Linked DNA regions of Homo sapiens: region 2 is linked to region 1. Evidence: promoter capture Hi-C in 16 types of primary human blood cells and fetal thymus (Javierre and others, 2016). All regions are on one chromosome and are shown on one strand. Each heading gives the region's core, a stretch centred on a gene start or on the middle of the fragment in contact. The rest is flanking DNA. Distances are from core to core; before and after follow the strand shown. Region 1 holds the start of KPNA1 (karyopherin subunit alpha 1). Region 2 overlaps MYLK-AS1 (MYLK antisense RNA 1).

Region 1 (6,981 bases), core at 1,811-4,310:
ACATCATAAATCATTAAAACTCTATTTTATCATTAATTCAACAAACACTGTGCTAAAACACTGAAGATGCAAAGAATAAGATATAATCCTATTCTCAAATGTAAAGGGAAAAGGGAAAAGGTAAAAGGACCATTGAGAGCAACAGAGAATAAAGAAAATAATGCAAGAAACAACTGACAGCAATTCCAGGTTACGTATAAAATAATTCTTAACATAGTTGAGACTAAAGAAAATTATAAAAATTGAACACAGCTCTGAGACTCCTGACAGTCAAAGTATAGAGAAACAGGATGGCTTACAAAACAAAAATAATCTAATAAAACCAATCATTAGTTTAAAAAAAAAAAGCTTAATACTGGGGTCTTAGGAAGAATTTGTCTCTAAGGTCTGTATTTTATAGGAACCAATACATAAATTAGAAATTTCTTCATTAGATATTAATGAAGAAAAGATGTTTTTAATGGCCCCTTTGGTAAGTATCAGCTCTAGATAAGATGTATATTAAATCATAGTTCTGTGAAGAAACTTCTACGAGAACCACTTTATAAAGTAACATAATGCGGCTGGGCGCGGTGGCTCATGCCTGTAATCCTAGAACTTCGGGAGGCCGAGGAGGGCGGATTGCGTGAGCTCAGGAGTTCGAGACCAGCCTGGGCAAGACGGTGAAACCACCCGTCTCTACTAAAATACAAAAAATTAGCCGAGTGTGGCCTCATGCCCCTGTAGTCCCAGCTACTCAGGCAGTCTCAGGCAGGAGAACTGCTTGAACCAGGGAGGCAGAGGCTGCAGTAAGCCGAGATCGCGTCACTGCCCAGCCTGGGCAACAGAGCAAGCATCCAAAAAAATAAATAAATAAAATAAAAAATACCATAATGCAAGTATAGTGATTTCAGGTGATACCTTTCTAATTTAGTTTATTCTAGGTTTTCATAAATGTATGTTTTGTTGCCCTACAGGACTGTAAACTCCTCAAGGCTTATGTTGTCTGCTTCCATTTGAACTGCCTTTACTATTTAGTAGAGTGCTTTACAGTTGCTACTCAACTATAATAACTGACAAAATGTTATGCAGTCAATATTTGTAATATTAGCTTTCCCTGCTACACTATAAATTCCATGAGAACAGGGACAGTGAGTTTTGATCGCGACTATATCCCCCCAAGTCTAGAAGATCACTCTGTAAGTATTCGCTGATTGAACGGATTAAATAAAGAAAACAACGAAAAAGTATGAAAGGAGAGAAATAATTTAAATGGCAGTAACTTTGGGTTCTAAGGTTGTTCTCAACAAGAACTGGAAGACCTTAGGTAAGTTACTTAACATTTGATTGTCAATGCTTTCATCTGTAAAATAGAAAAATTAACAGATACTTCAGATTCAAATGTTTTTAATATATGTAAAGCATTTAACACAATACCTGAAAAAAGAACTCAATAAATGTTAATTCCTTTACTTTCTCTTACGTCTCATCTATCCATAAAACAGTGTCTTCCAAGAATATTTCAGTAAAAATACAACAGAACTCATTCTTACTTTCCTTTGAAAAATTAAATTTTCATCTCTTTGATCTTTAAAAAGGAGGGAAAAATAACTTGTGTACTGCTTTCAAAATATTACAAATGCAAAAGCTAGTTAAGACAAAAACAATGTCGAGAATGAGCCTTGCTGGTGGCATCCGCCTGTAGTTCCAGCTAGTAGGGAGGATGCCTTGAGGCCAGGAGTTCCAGATCAGCCCGGGAAACAAAGCAAGACTCCATCTCTTAAGAAAAAAAAAAACAAAACAGGAGGGGGGAAATCACTTCATCTACTAATAGAGATTTTTAAGCAACCGTTTATTTAAGAAAAAAGGGTGAAATTCAAGTTAATATTACTTGACAGTACGTTTCAGAAAAAAAAATACTCTGCAGAGCTGGGTGTGGTTGCCCAAGACTAGTCCCAGCTACTTGGGAAGCTGAGGCAAGAGGACAGTTTGAGCTCAGGAGTTGGAGTACAGCCTGGGCAATATAGCGAGACCCCATCTCTTTAAAATACAAACAAAAACTCGGCAATCGTTTGTTCTGAGTTGAAACCTTAAAAATCAAATATTTTGAACGCTTTCATTTAAAAGTGGAACACGACCCAATCCTAAAACATTACTTCATGACGACTTCCTTGACTCCAGTCATCCTTGTTTCCTCCTCCCGTTTTGAGCTTAATCCGATACCTCGCTGCTTCCCTCGCATCGCACACGCGGCGTGCAGACCAAGTTCTGTCATTGCTATAATTACCACACCCCCGATCAGCCGCTCCAGGCCCATGTTGTTATGACATCGGTAAACTGCAGCCGGCCGTCTCCACCCCCCGCTTCCCCCACCTCCCTCCGGGCCGCCGGCTCCGACCCGGTCTGTAACTTGTGAATTCCCAAGACGGTCCCTTTTTGCCAGGGTTAGAATTTTTACACGCCACCCCTGCTCCTTCCTGCCTCTGTCACAGCGCTCTGCGCGGCCCACCCCCGCCTCCCGCCCGCCGCCCGGCCGCGGCGCAGGCTCCGCGCTCGCCTCCTCTCCGCCCGCTGCCTCGGCGCCCCGCAGTCCCCGGCGCCGCTTACAGCCCCGCCGCCGCGCCACGCCGCCCCGCCCCGCCTAGCCTCGACCGGCGTTCCCGATGGCGATCACACCAGGGCTCCCCACCCCCACCCTCTCCTCCGCCGGCCTTGTGGCCGTTAGGACAGCCGGGCCCGTGACGCACGGACGCGGCGCGAGCGTCCGGCCCAGGAACCCCGGCTCTAGGCCCTGCCGGCACCCGCCCTCGCCCCAGGGCCTCTCCTGAGTCCCTCCGGGACTGCCCGGATCTGCCGGCGGGAGGGGGAGGGGCCGGGGCCGCAAGGCCCCAGCACTCACCAGGCTCAAGGCAACCGATCCCGGTGCCACCGCTGAAGTTAGCCCCTCGCTCGCCCGCCCGCCGTGCCACTCCCGCGCACAACCTCGAAGAGCTGGCCCGCGCCTCGGCGGTGCTCACCAGGCCTCGCTCTCCGCCGCCTCGCACCGAGCAGCGAGACTCAGCTCAGCCGGCGTTCGCAGTGCGCCTGCGTGCGGGGGCCGGCCCGAGCGCCTACGCGCGCCCCTCCGGCGCTTGTCGCAGAGGCTGCCGGGAGACGTAGTCTTGTAACGCTCTCTCGCCGGACATTCCTAATGGTTAGCGCCCAGCCTGTGAAGAGTCGGGGGTCGGGGAGGGGGTCTCGCTAAGAAGGAGGTTTGCAGACCATGGCAAAGGTTGGAGAAAGTTATATGTACAAACCTGTCTTTGCTAAGCTCTTCCAGGGCGGATCGATGCTCACCTCTGTATAGCTTCTAAGTACCTAATACGCGTTGATGGAATGAATGATGGAATGATTGAAGGCTGAGGGAGTATTACAAAATTAGTAGGTCAGCGCCTCGTGTCTAAAGGGCTCACATGCAGCATGAATGCAGGAAGCTTCTGGACATTCCTTTTTTAGTTATCTCCCATCCCCTTTGCTTGATAACGTATGCGTAGTATCAAAAATAATTAAGGGCCGGGCGCGGTGGCTCACACCTGTAATCCCAGCACCTTGGGAGGCCGAGGTGGGTGGATCACTTGAGGCTAGGAGTTTTGAGACTAGCCTGGGCAACATGGCGAAACCCCGTCTCTACTAAAAACACAAAAATTAGCAGGGGGTGGTGACGGGCGCCTGAAGTCCCAGCTACTCGGGAGGCTGAGGTGGGAGAATCACCTGAGCCCGGGGTTGACGGTGAGACTGCAGTGAGCCGAGATCGCGCCACTACACTCCAGCCTGGGCAACCGGAGTGAGACCCTGCCTCAAAAATAATAATAACAATAATAATAATAATAATAATGAAACTACATGAAACACATACTCGTTTTACTCTCAACTGCTCTCAAACGAAAACTTGGAGCAAATGATTGCTAATGTTAAATTTCATGGAATTCTTTGGGGGAGCAAATGGAGTAGTGGCTTCAAAAGAAGAAAAACTGAAGCCAGCCTAGCAGGGATCACGGAATAGTAGACAGATTTAAAACACATGCCAAGAAGCAAGGTGAAAGAGATGAGGTAGATTAATACATTTATAAATGTCCCAGGGAAGAGGAGAGGAGAGAGGACCACTCTACCTGAATCCTAGGTTATGCAATGTTCATTTGTCCTGGACTTCTCTCTGCTGCATCAGCATTCTCCCGCTGATGTTGTGTTTACTAAGATCAGAGTTGAGTTTGAGCAAGGGGGCTGGGGAAAGGGAAGGTGTGTTCAACAGGAGAGACTTAAGGGCAAGTTTGCCTGACCACAGCTAGACTGAAGACAGATCACCTTATTCCAATAAGGAACTAAGACTGATTATTCAGAGCCGGTCTTCAGTCTTTGGGAAAGCTAATTTATTTCCGGTTCACCCTTATTCCTAGCTAGTCCTTGATGGTCCCATCCAAAAGTCTGGGGTATTTACTAGGGCCTCTTCTCTTTGGTGGGCCTTCTAAGCCCCATGAGACAGCCATAAGCTCTTCTCCCTGTTTCAGCCACTGCTTTCAGAGTCAGCAATCACCTTAGCTTTGGAAAAATGATGGCAAATATCAGGCTAACCTCTGGTGGCTTCCTTTTTCTTCCAGACCTTGCACTCACAAATTCTCACTTCCTTGGTAGCTCTTCAGTACATTAACGTTTTTATATTTTGTTCAGTTGTTCTCTGTAGTGGAAAGGTTGATTGAAAACAACAGTAGGCCATTGCTGGAAGTTGAATTCCTATGTATGTTACTTTTACAAAAATGTTATCATACCATACATGGTGTTTTATAAGCTACTGTCTCTCTGACAATATCATTTTATAGTTTGAGAAATTTGAAAGTATAGAACAGTATTTTTTACTGTCACAAACAATGCTGCTGTGAACATTCTTGTACATCTCTACTGTGTATAGGGAAACTGCTAGATCCTAGGACATTGCATCTTTAACCTTACTATATGTATCAGGCAGAAATCTAAGATGGCCCCCATAATCTCTGGTCCCTGGTGTTGCCTATATAATCTCCACCCCTTGAGTGTAGGTGGGACCTTTGACTTACTTCTAGCCAACAGAATATGGCAAAGGTGATAGAATGTCACTCCCATGATTCCGTTTCATTATATAAGACTGTCTTTCCAGACTGGAGCTAGAGATTCGCTGGCCTTGAAGAAGCAAGCTGTCATGTTGCGAACTGCCTATGGAGAAAACTAAATGGCAGGGAACTGCAGACGGCTTCTAGAACTTGAGCGCAGCCTGCAGCTGACAACCAGTAAGAAGCCAGGGCCCTCAGTCACACAACCACAAGGAAATGAATTCTGCCAACAACCTGAGAGGTGGCCTCCAGATGAGAAGACAGCCTGACTTAAACCTTGATAGCAGTTTTGTGAGACCCTGAGCAAAGAAAACAGATAAACTGTGCGTAGACTCCTGGTCTACAGAAACTGTGAGATAATAAATGTGTCTTAAGATACTATGTTTATGGTAATTTATTATACAATAGAAAACTAATACACTAGACATTGCTGGATTATTTCATAAAGTGATTGTACCAATTTGTACTCTAGAAACGGTATATAAGATACTCTTCACTTGCTAACAGTTAGAAATGTCTGGCTTTTTAAATTTTTGCCAATCTAACATATAAATTACTTGAACATAAAAACATGAAAAATAGATATTTACTTAGAATTATGCATTCTGTTGTATTTCTTTTCTGTTGCATAAATGCAATTAAATAAAATAGCAGGCTGGGAACAGTGGCTCATGCCTGTAATCCCAGCACTTTGGGAGGCTGAGGCAGGAGGATCACTTGAACCCAGGAGTTCCAGACCAGCCTGGGCAACATAGCAAGACCCCCATCTCAACACACAAAAAAATTAGTCGGGCATGGTGAGTCGCACCTGTAATCCCAGCTATTCAGGAGACTGAGGTGGGAGGATCACTTGAGACCAGGAGTCTGAGCACACCACTGCACTTCAGCGTGGGTGGCAGAGCAAGATATTGTCTCAAAAAAAAAAAAAAAAAAGCAACTAGTAGTAATAAATAGAGAGACTAATTAAGCAAATAATATGTATGAGAAAAATGCAACAATTTCATAAGGTTTCTTTCTTTCCTCTGGTATAGCAATTTAGCTCTATTGCATATTTGAATTTTGTAGGCTATATCATCCTATATTCTTGAGATAAATAAGTGTAAGAATTTTTTAAAGAATGTATACAATAGAACTAATGAGATAGATATTACCTATATTAAATAAAAAATAATGACATATTTCTTTCTGTCCCATGATAGCTTGAGATATTTTTATTCTTTCTGTTTCCTTTTCCATTAGTACTTTTCTGAACTACTTGGGATCTTTAGGACGTTTTTCTTTTCTTTTGTGTGATAGTAAAACTGAATACAGTCAAACATAAAACTAATTTTGACTTGCAGCTTTGCTCCTCTGCCTACATTACACTGCTTCTGTTGTCAAAGTAAAAACATAAAGCTAAATATTCTATAAACAAAATTGTTGGAGCACAAAATACTTAGGATTTTATTTACTAGCACAGCACATTTTTAAACTTGTAGGAATTCGTTTCCAGCTCTCCGAAAGGTCCATCCACTTTGTATATTCAGGTAAACCTGCTGTTTGTCTATCAGTCATGTCCTGTGCATCTATAAATTAACCATGTAGGCTTTCCATATGTGAAATGACTATCATTTTTAAACACTCTGAAGCACATTGGATGTCATCCTCAGTTAAACCTCATTTCCCCAGAGAAAATGGTTTATGCACTTCTAACTCTTCAGCAAAACAACAACAAAAAAATTGAGCTTATAAAATTGAAGTTAGATTTCAAGTAAGTTTACAGCTGTAGTAAAGAAATCCAGAAAGTTCTGTTTAATTTGCCTTTTTCTGGATACTTTTTTTAAAAGTTCTGAAACAATCTTATTTCCAGAAAGTTGACCTATTTTTCTTGGTTGGAGTTTTT
Region 2 (6,981 bases), core at 1,622-4,121, 1.1 Mb after region 1:
TCTGAGGGTGGTGGTGGTATTTAAATCCATGACACTGTAATCACCCAATACGTTCTTCCTTCCCACTGCACAGACAAAATCAATTCATAGAGACCATGGCATTGCAATAAAGAATTTAATTGACATGAGATAGGTCTTGGAGATGGAGTTATTACTCCAAATCTCCCCCAAAATTCAGAGGGTAGGGTTTTTCAAGAATAGTTTGGCTAAGATCTGAGAGCTATAGTCAAAACAAAACAAAACAAAACACCCACCCCCCCCCCAACACACACACAGTTTGGCAGGCAGGAGGCTGGAGGAATGGGTGCTGCTGATTGGTTGGGAATGCAATTATAGGGGTGTGGAAAATGGTCCCCCTGCACTGAGCCTGCTTCTGGGTGGAGGCCACAGGACTGGTTGAGCCAAGAGTCAAAGGTCTCAGTGGGGTCGTCAGCCATCCGAAATGCAGAAGCCTGAAAGTTTATCTCAAAAGGCCAATCTTAGGTTCTACAGTAGTGAACTGGGGAAGCTGCAAATCTAGTGACCTCTGGAATAGTGGCTGGTAATCATTTAACTTAACAAAGCCTATGTCTTAGCAGAATTCAAGCTCCTCTTATCCTTCTAACCTGGTGGCTTTTCATTAGTTTTACAAAAGTGGTTTAGTTTTGGGGAGGGGCTATTATCGCTTAAACTGTAAACTAAGTTTCTCCCAAAGTTAGCTTGGTGCAAGCCCAGGAATGACCAAGGGCAGTTTTGGAGGTTAAAGATGAGAAAGGAAAACCCCAGATTCACTGAGCCAAAGGGAAAAGTCAAGCTGGGAACTGGGTCACACAAACCTGCCTCCCATTTGGTTCCTAAATAAGATAGCTACAAAGATAAAAGCTATATACTTCCCTCACATTTTACCCACAAGGAAATTCCTTTTAGGCCCAAAGATCTTTACTCTAAAACAGTTCTGTTGAATTTCAACCTGGCAATGTAAGTTGATATCTTCACAGGTATGGGACATAGGACAGAATTCAAAGTCTTCCCTCTCCTCACCTGAGACAAATGCATATCTGATTGCTTCCTCTGCCCTATTGTCTACGTTATCTTATGTAAAAATACAGATTAACTGAGCCAGACTAAGGCATGAATATTTCCTCCACTCCCCACTCACATGAAAATTGTGTATTCAAAAGGATGCAACTGTTTTATCTTTTTATCTACTGACACAATTTAAAAATATTTCTTGGCTGGGCGTGGTGGCTCACGCCTGTAATCCCAGCACTTTGGGAGGCCAGGCAGGCAGATCAGGAGGTCAGGAGTTTGAGACCAGCCTGGCCAGTATGGTGAAACCCCATCTTTACTAAAAATACAAAAATTAGCTGGGTGTGGTGGTGCGCGCCTGTAGTCCCAGCTACTTGGGAGACTGAGGCAAGAGAATCGCTTGGAGTTGGAGGTTGCAGTGAGCCGAGATTGCGCCGCTGCACTCCAGCCTGGTGACAGAGCGAGACTCTGTCTCAAAAAAAAAAAAAAATTTCTCTTCCCCCAGTATCCACCCTTTCCCCTTTAAGTACTGAAGCCCTCAAAATCATCTTTGGAGATAGGCATATACCTGCCTCCCTGGCATGCATCCTTTACTATGGCAAATAAACCTCCTAAAATGATTGAGACTTGCCTTGATCGTGTTCTTTGATTTACAGAGTCAAGGTGGGGGCTGGTTAGATCAGATCTCTCTCAGTCATAATTTTCTCACTGTTACAATTTTTGCAAAAGAAGTTTCAAGACCTCAAGAGATGAAGTGAGAGGCATAAGTTGACAATTGTCAGGGTCCCATCCTTTCCCGCCATGGCAGATTGTTCAGAGATTCTGTTGCCTTGTTTTCCTGAAATTTTTTTTTTTTGGAGACGAAGTCTTGCTCTTGTCCCCCAGACTGGAGTGCAATGGCACACTCTTGGCTCACTGCAACCTCCGCCTCCCAGGTTCAAGCAATTCTCCTGCCTCAGCCTTCCAAGTAGCTGGGATTACAGGTGCCTGCCCCCACGCCCAGCTAATTTTTGTATGTTTAGTAGAGACGGGATTTTGCCATGTTGGCCAGGCTGGTTTCGAACTCGTGACCTCAGGTGATCCACCTGCCTCGGCCTCCCAAAATGCTGGGATTATAGGCATGAACCACCACACCCGACCTTCCTGAATTTTTCAAAGAGCAAGTTGGTGAGCCCAAATTGCACACTGTGATCAGAGGGCAAAAAAATTTCTTTGCAAAAGAAATAAAGAAGTGAACCATTTTACAAAACCAAATAATCATTCATCTAAAAGCTTCTTTCATTCATTTGACTGATTTTTTTTTCAATATAATCTACTTAATGGGAAAGTAGGAGGAGGCAGGAATGCATAAAGTTCTGTTCAGTTGGAAATCAGTTTAAAACTCAATGTATCTTCTTGCAGTCACTTAGGCCCAACTCCAGTCTGTTGTTTATAGCAGCAATCTCCAACCTTTTTGGCACCAGGGACTGGTTTCATGGAAGACAATTTTTCCATGGACTGGGGAGGGAATGGTTTCAGGATGAAACTGTTTCACTTCAGATCAGCAGGCATTAGATGGAGCCTGCAACCTAGATCCCTCGCCTGCATGGTTCATGATAGGGCTCGTGTTCCTATGAGAATCTAATGCCGCTGTTGGTCTGGCAGGAGGTGGAGATCAGGTGGTAATGCTCACTTGCCTGCTGCTCACCTCCTGCTGTGTGGCTGGGTTCCTAACAGGCCATGGACCTGTACCAGTCTGTGGCCCAGAGGTTGGGGACCCCTGCTCTACAGTACAGCCAAAGTGATCTTTTCCACATACAACCTTGTTCGTGTCTACTACCTTCCTCTGCCCCACCCCTGAAGATATTTAAATGGCTTTTGATGACACTTAGGATAAAGCATAAAATATTTAATATGGTATACAAAAATCTGCATAGACTAGACCCTACCTGCCTCCTCAGTCTCACCATGCCCCTCCTAGTCATACTGGCCTCATCTTAGGTCTTCCATCGAGCAGTACTCCTTTTTTGCCTCAGGGAATTTGCACATGCTATTCCAATCATACCTTCCCAACAGTACCCCAAAGTCTTAACTCATTTCAGCATTAACTCAAAAGTCCAAGTTCAAAGTCTGATCTGAGACAAGGCAAGTCTCTTTCACCTACAAGCCTGTAAAATCAAAAACAAGTTAGTTACTTCCAAGATACAATGGGGGTACAGGCATTGGGTAAATGTTCTCATTCCACATGGGAGAAATTGGCCAAAACAAAGGGGCCACAGGCCCCATGCAAGTCTGAAACCTGGTTGGGCAGTCATTAAATATTAAACCTCTTAAATACTCTCCTTTGACTCCATGTCTCACATCCAGTGCATGCTGATTGAAGAGGTGAGCTCCTAAGGCTTTGGGCAGCTCTTGCCATGTGGCTCTGCAGGGTACAGTCCCAAAGGCTGCTTTCATGGGCTGGAGTTGAGTGCCTGAAGCTTTTCCAGGTCCAGGGTGCAAGCTGTTGGTGGATCTACCATTCTGGGGTCTGGAGGACAGTGGCCCTATTCTCAGATCCACTAGGTATTGCCCCAGTGGGGACTCTGTGTGGATGCTCCAACCCCACATTTCCCTTTTGCACTGCACTAGTAGGGGTTCTCCATGAGGGCTCCGCCCATGCAGCAGACTTCTGACTGGACATCCAGTCATTTCCATACATCCTCTGAAATCTAGGCATAGGTTTCTAAACCTCAACTCTTGGCTTCTGCACACTTGCAGGCCCAACACCACATAAAAGCTGCCAGGGCTTGGGGCTTGTACCCTCTGAAGCAATGGCCCAAGCTGTACCTTGGCCCCTTTTAGCCATGAGGTGGAGTGGCTGGGACACAGGGCACCATGTCTTGAGGCTGCACACAGCAGTAGAGCCCTGGGCCTGCCTAGCCCAGGAAACTATTTTTCCCTCCTAGGCCTCTAGGTCTGTGATGGGAGGGGCTGTCCTGAAGATCTCTGAAATTCCCTGGAGACATTTTTCCCCATTGTCTCAGCTATTAACATTCAGCTCCTTGTTACTTGTGCAAATTCCTGCAGCCTGCTTGAATATCTCCCTGGAAAATGGGTCTTTGTTTTCTACTGCATGGTCAGGCTGCAAATTTTCCAAACTTTTATGCTCTGCTTCCCTTTTAAACATAAGTTCCAATTTCAGATCATCTCCTTGTGAACGCATGTGACCGTTTGCTTTCAGAAAAAGCCATGTGACATCTTGAATGCTTTGGTGCTTCGAAGTTTATTCTACCAGATACCCTAAATCATCTGTCTCAAGTTTAAAGTTCCACAGATCTCTAAGGCAGGGGCAAAATGCTGTCAGTCTCTTTGCTAAAGCATAGCAAGAGTGACCTTTGCTCCAGTTCCCAATAAGTTCTTCGTCTCCATCTAAGACCATCTCAGCCTGGACTTCATTGTCCATATCACTATCAGCATTTTGGTCAAAATCATTCAACAATTCTCTAGGAAGTTCCCAACTTTCCCACATCTTCCCCATGTCTTCTTCTGAGCCCTCCAAACTGTTCTGACCTCTGCTGTTACCCAGTTCCACACTTGCTTCAACATATTGAGGTATCTTTATAGCAGTGCCCCACTCCCAGTACCAATCTTCTGTATTAGTCCATTTTCACACTTCGATAAAGAACTACCTGAGACTGGGTAATTTATAAAGAAAAGATGTTTAATTGACTCACAGTTCTGCATAGCTTGGGAGGCCTCAGGAAATTTACAATCATGGTTGATACAATTACGCTGTGTTTCCACCCACATCTCATCTTGAATTTTAGTTCCCATAATCCCCATGTGTTGTAGGAGGGACCCAGTGGGAGGTAATTGAATCGTGGATGCGGTTACCTCTATGCTGTTCTTGGGATAGTGAGTGAGACTCACAAGCTCTGATGGTTTTATAAGCATCTGGCACTTCCCCTGCTGCCATGTGAAGAAGGATATGTTGGCTTCCCTTTCCACCATGATTGTAAGTTTCCTGAGGCCTCCCCAGCCATGCAGAACTGTGTCAACTAAACCTCTTTCCTTTATAAATTACCTAGTCTCAGATATTTCTTCATAGCAGTGTGAGAAGGGACTAATACAATGGTGGACAGCAAAGGAGAAGCAAGCACCTTCTCCACAAGGCAGCAGGAGAGAGAGAGAGAGAGCAAAGAAGGAACTGCCAAACACTTATAAACATCAGACCTCGTGAGAACTCACTATCACTAGAACAGCATGAGGGAAACCATCCCCATGATCCAATCACCTCCCACCAGTCCCTCCCTCAACACGTGATGATTACAATTTGAGATGAGATTTGGTTGGAGACACACAGCTAAACCGTATCACTCCTTTTTTGCATTTATAATTTTTAAAATATCACTTATTCTTCCCCCTCTACTTACTGGAATTTGTACATCTTGCTTCTCTTCTTTTACTGGTTACCATAGAAATTACAGCATGGATCATTAACTCATTAAAGTCTAATATTAATCAGTACTTTATCATCTTCCTAAACAATACATAAACCTTTCAAATCTGTCTGGTCATTTTTAATAATCCCTTGTTCCTTGCCTATATGAATTTTTATGAATATATAATACCATGTATCTGTCATGGCACATTGTACATAATAGTTTCACTGCCCTAAAAATCTGTGCTTTACCTATTCATCCCAAACCAGCCTCCTCCCACACCCATAGTAACCATTGATTTTTTTACTGTCTCTACAGTCTTGCTTTTTCCAGAATGTCATATAGTTGGAATTATACAGGATGTTGCCTTTCTGTTGTTTTTTTTTTTTTTTCACTTAGCAACATGCACTTAAGGTTTGTCTGTGTCTTTTCATGGCTTGACAGCTCACTTCTTTTAATCACTGAATAATATCCCATTGTCTGGATGTACCTTCTTTTTTTTTTAACCTATTCACCAATCGAAGGACATCTTGGTTGCTTCCAAATTTTGGCACTTATGAATAAAGTTCATATGAACATTCATGTGCAGGTTTTTATGTGGACATAAATTATGTTTTTTATTTCATCTTTTATTTTCTTGAATATTTTATACAGGCTTATTTTATTTTCCCTATATGATAATTCCAATATTTGAAGTTTCTGGGGGACTAAATCATTTTTTTTTTGTTGTTGTTTTTGTTCACTGACTCATGGTGGCTTAATCTCCCTGTAATTTTTTATTGTGAGTTTATTTTATTGAATTTAAATCAATGGAAATTCCAAGGGCCTACATTTGGGATGCTTTCCTTCAGAAGGACTTTTATATACCTCTGCTAAAAGCCAGATGGCATCCGGACCACTTTAGTGTGCGCTTCAAGGATCCTGGAGCTTCAGCTTCCTCATGTTGCCATGGTTCCAGGTTTAGCTTCTGATTCACAGAACTGGTGTTGGCATTTGCAACATAGTGAAAACTCCCATATCTAATTTTTTAAAAAACAGAAATTAATGCAGAAGAATATTACTTCAAAGGTATAGAATTTTAAAACTATCAATATCACCAACCATAAATGAGAAGATTCGTACATTTGACTATATTAAAATAAAGAACTTTTGTTTGCCAAAAGATAGCATGAAATAAGCAAAAAAGCAAGGTACAGAGTACAAGATATTTGCCACATGTATAATTGATAAAGAATAGCCTCCAGGATATATGAAAACTCTTTCAAATCAATAATAGACAATCACATTGAAAAAAAATGAGCAAAGACTTGAACAGAAGAAAATATAAATGGTCAATAAACATGCAAATATGCTCACTCTCATTATTAATTAGGGAAATGCAAGTATAACAACAGTGAGATACCATTAACTATCCTCTAGATTGGCTAAAATTCAACAGTTTGATAACACCAATTGTTGGCAAGGATGTGATGCGGCAGGAACTCTTCAGACTGCTGTTGATTAATTGGTGTGTTCAGTTTGGGAAACAATTTGGCATTATCTAGTAAAGTTGAAGATACATATATCCCGT

What was found. Contacts are between HindIII fragments. The CHiCAGO score rates a contact against its expected background, and 5 or more counts as called.
Region 2: a fragment that was not itself captured here is called in contact with the fragment with the promoter of KPNA1 in region 1 in 1 of 17 cell types (fetal thymus); the score reaches 5.1 in fetal thymus.

Annotation. Positions count from the first base shown.
Region 1 is chr3:122,511,879-122,518,859 of GRCh38, forward strand. It overlaps KPNA1 (karyopherin subunit alpha 1), which reads right to left and starts at 3,061. Exons shown (of 14, transcript NM_002264.4): 1 at 2,879-3,061. It overlaps LOC107984000 (a long non-coding RNA gene), which reads left to right and starts at 3,151. Exons shown (of 2, transcript XR_924403.3): 1 at 3,151-3,250; 2 at 5,147-5,480. RefSeq lists a silencer at 2,339-3,028. The HindIII fragment of the contact is 3,104 bases long and covers 347-3,450 here.
Region 2 is chr3:123,587,248-123,594,228 of GRCh38, forward strand. All of the region lies in intron 2 of MYLK-AS1 (MYLK antisense RNA 1), which reads left to right. Among named protein-coding and RNA genes, the nearest start is that of MYLK-AS1, 5.2 kb to the left of the region's middle. RefSeq lists a silencer at 3,581-3,781. The HindIII fragment of the contact is 1,187 bases long and covers 2,279-3,465 here.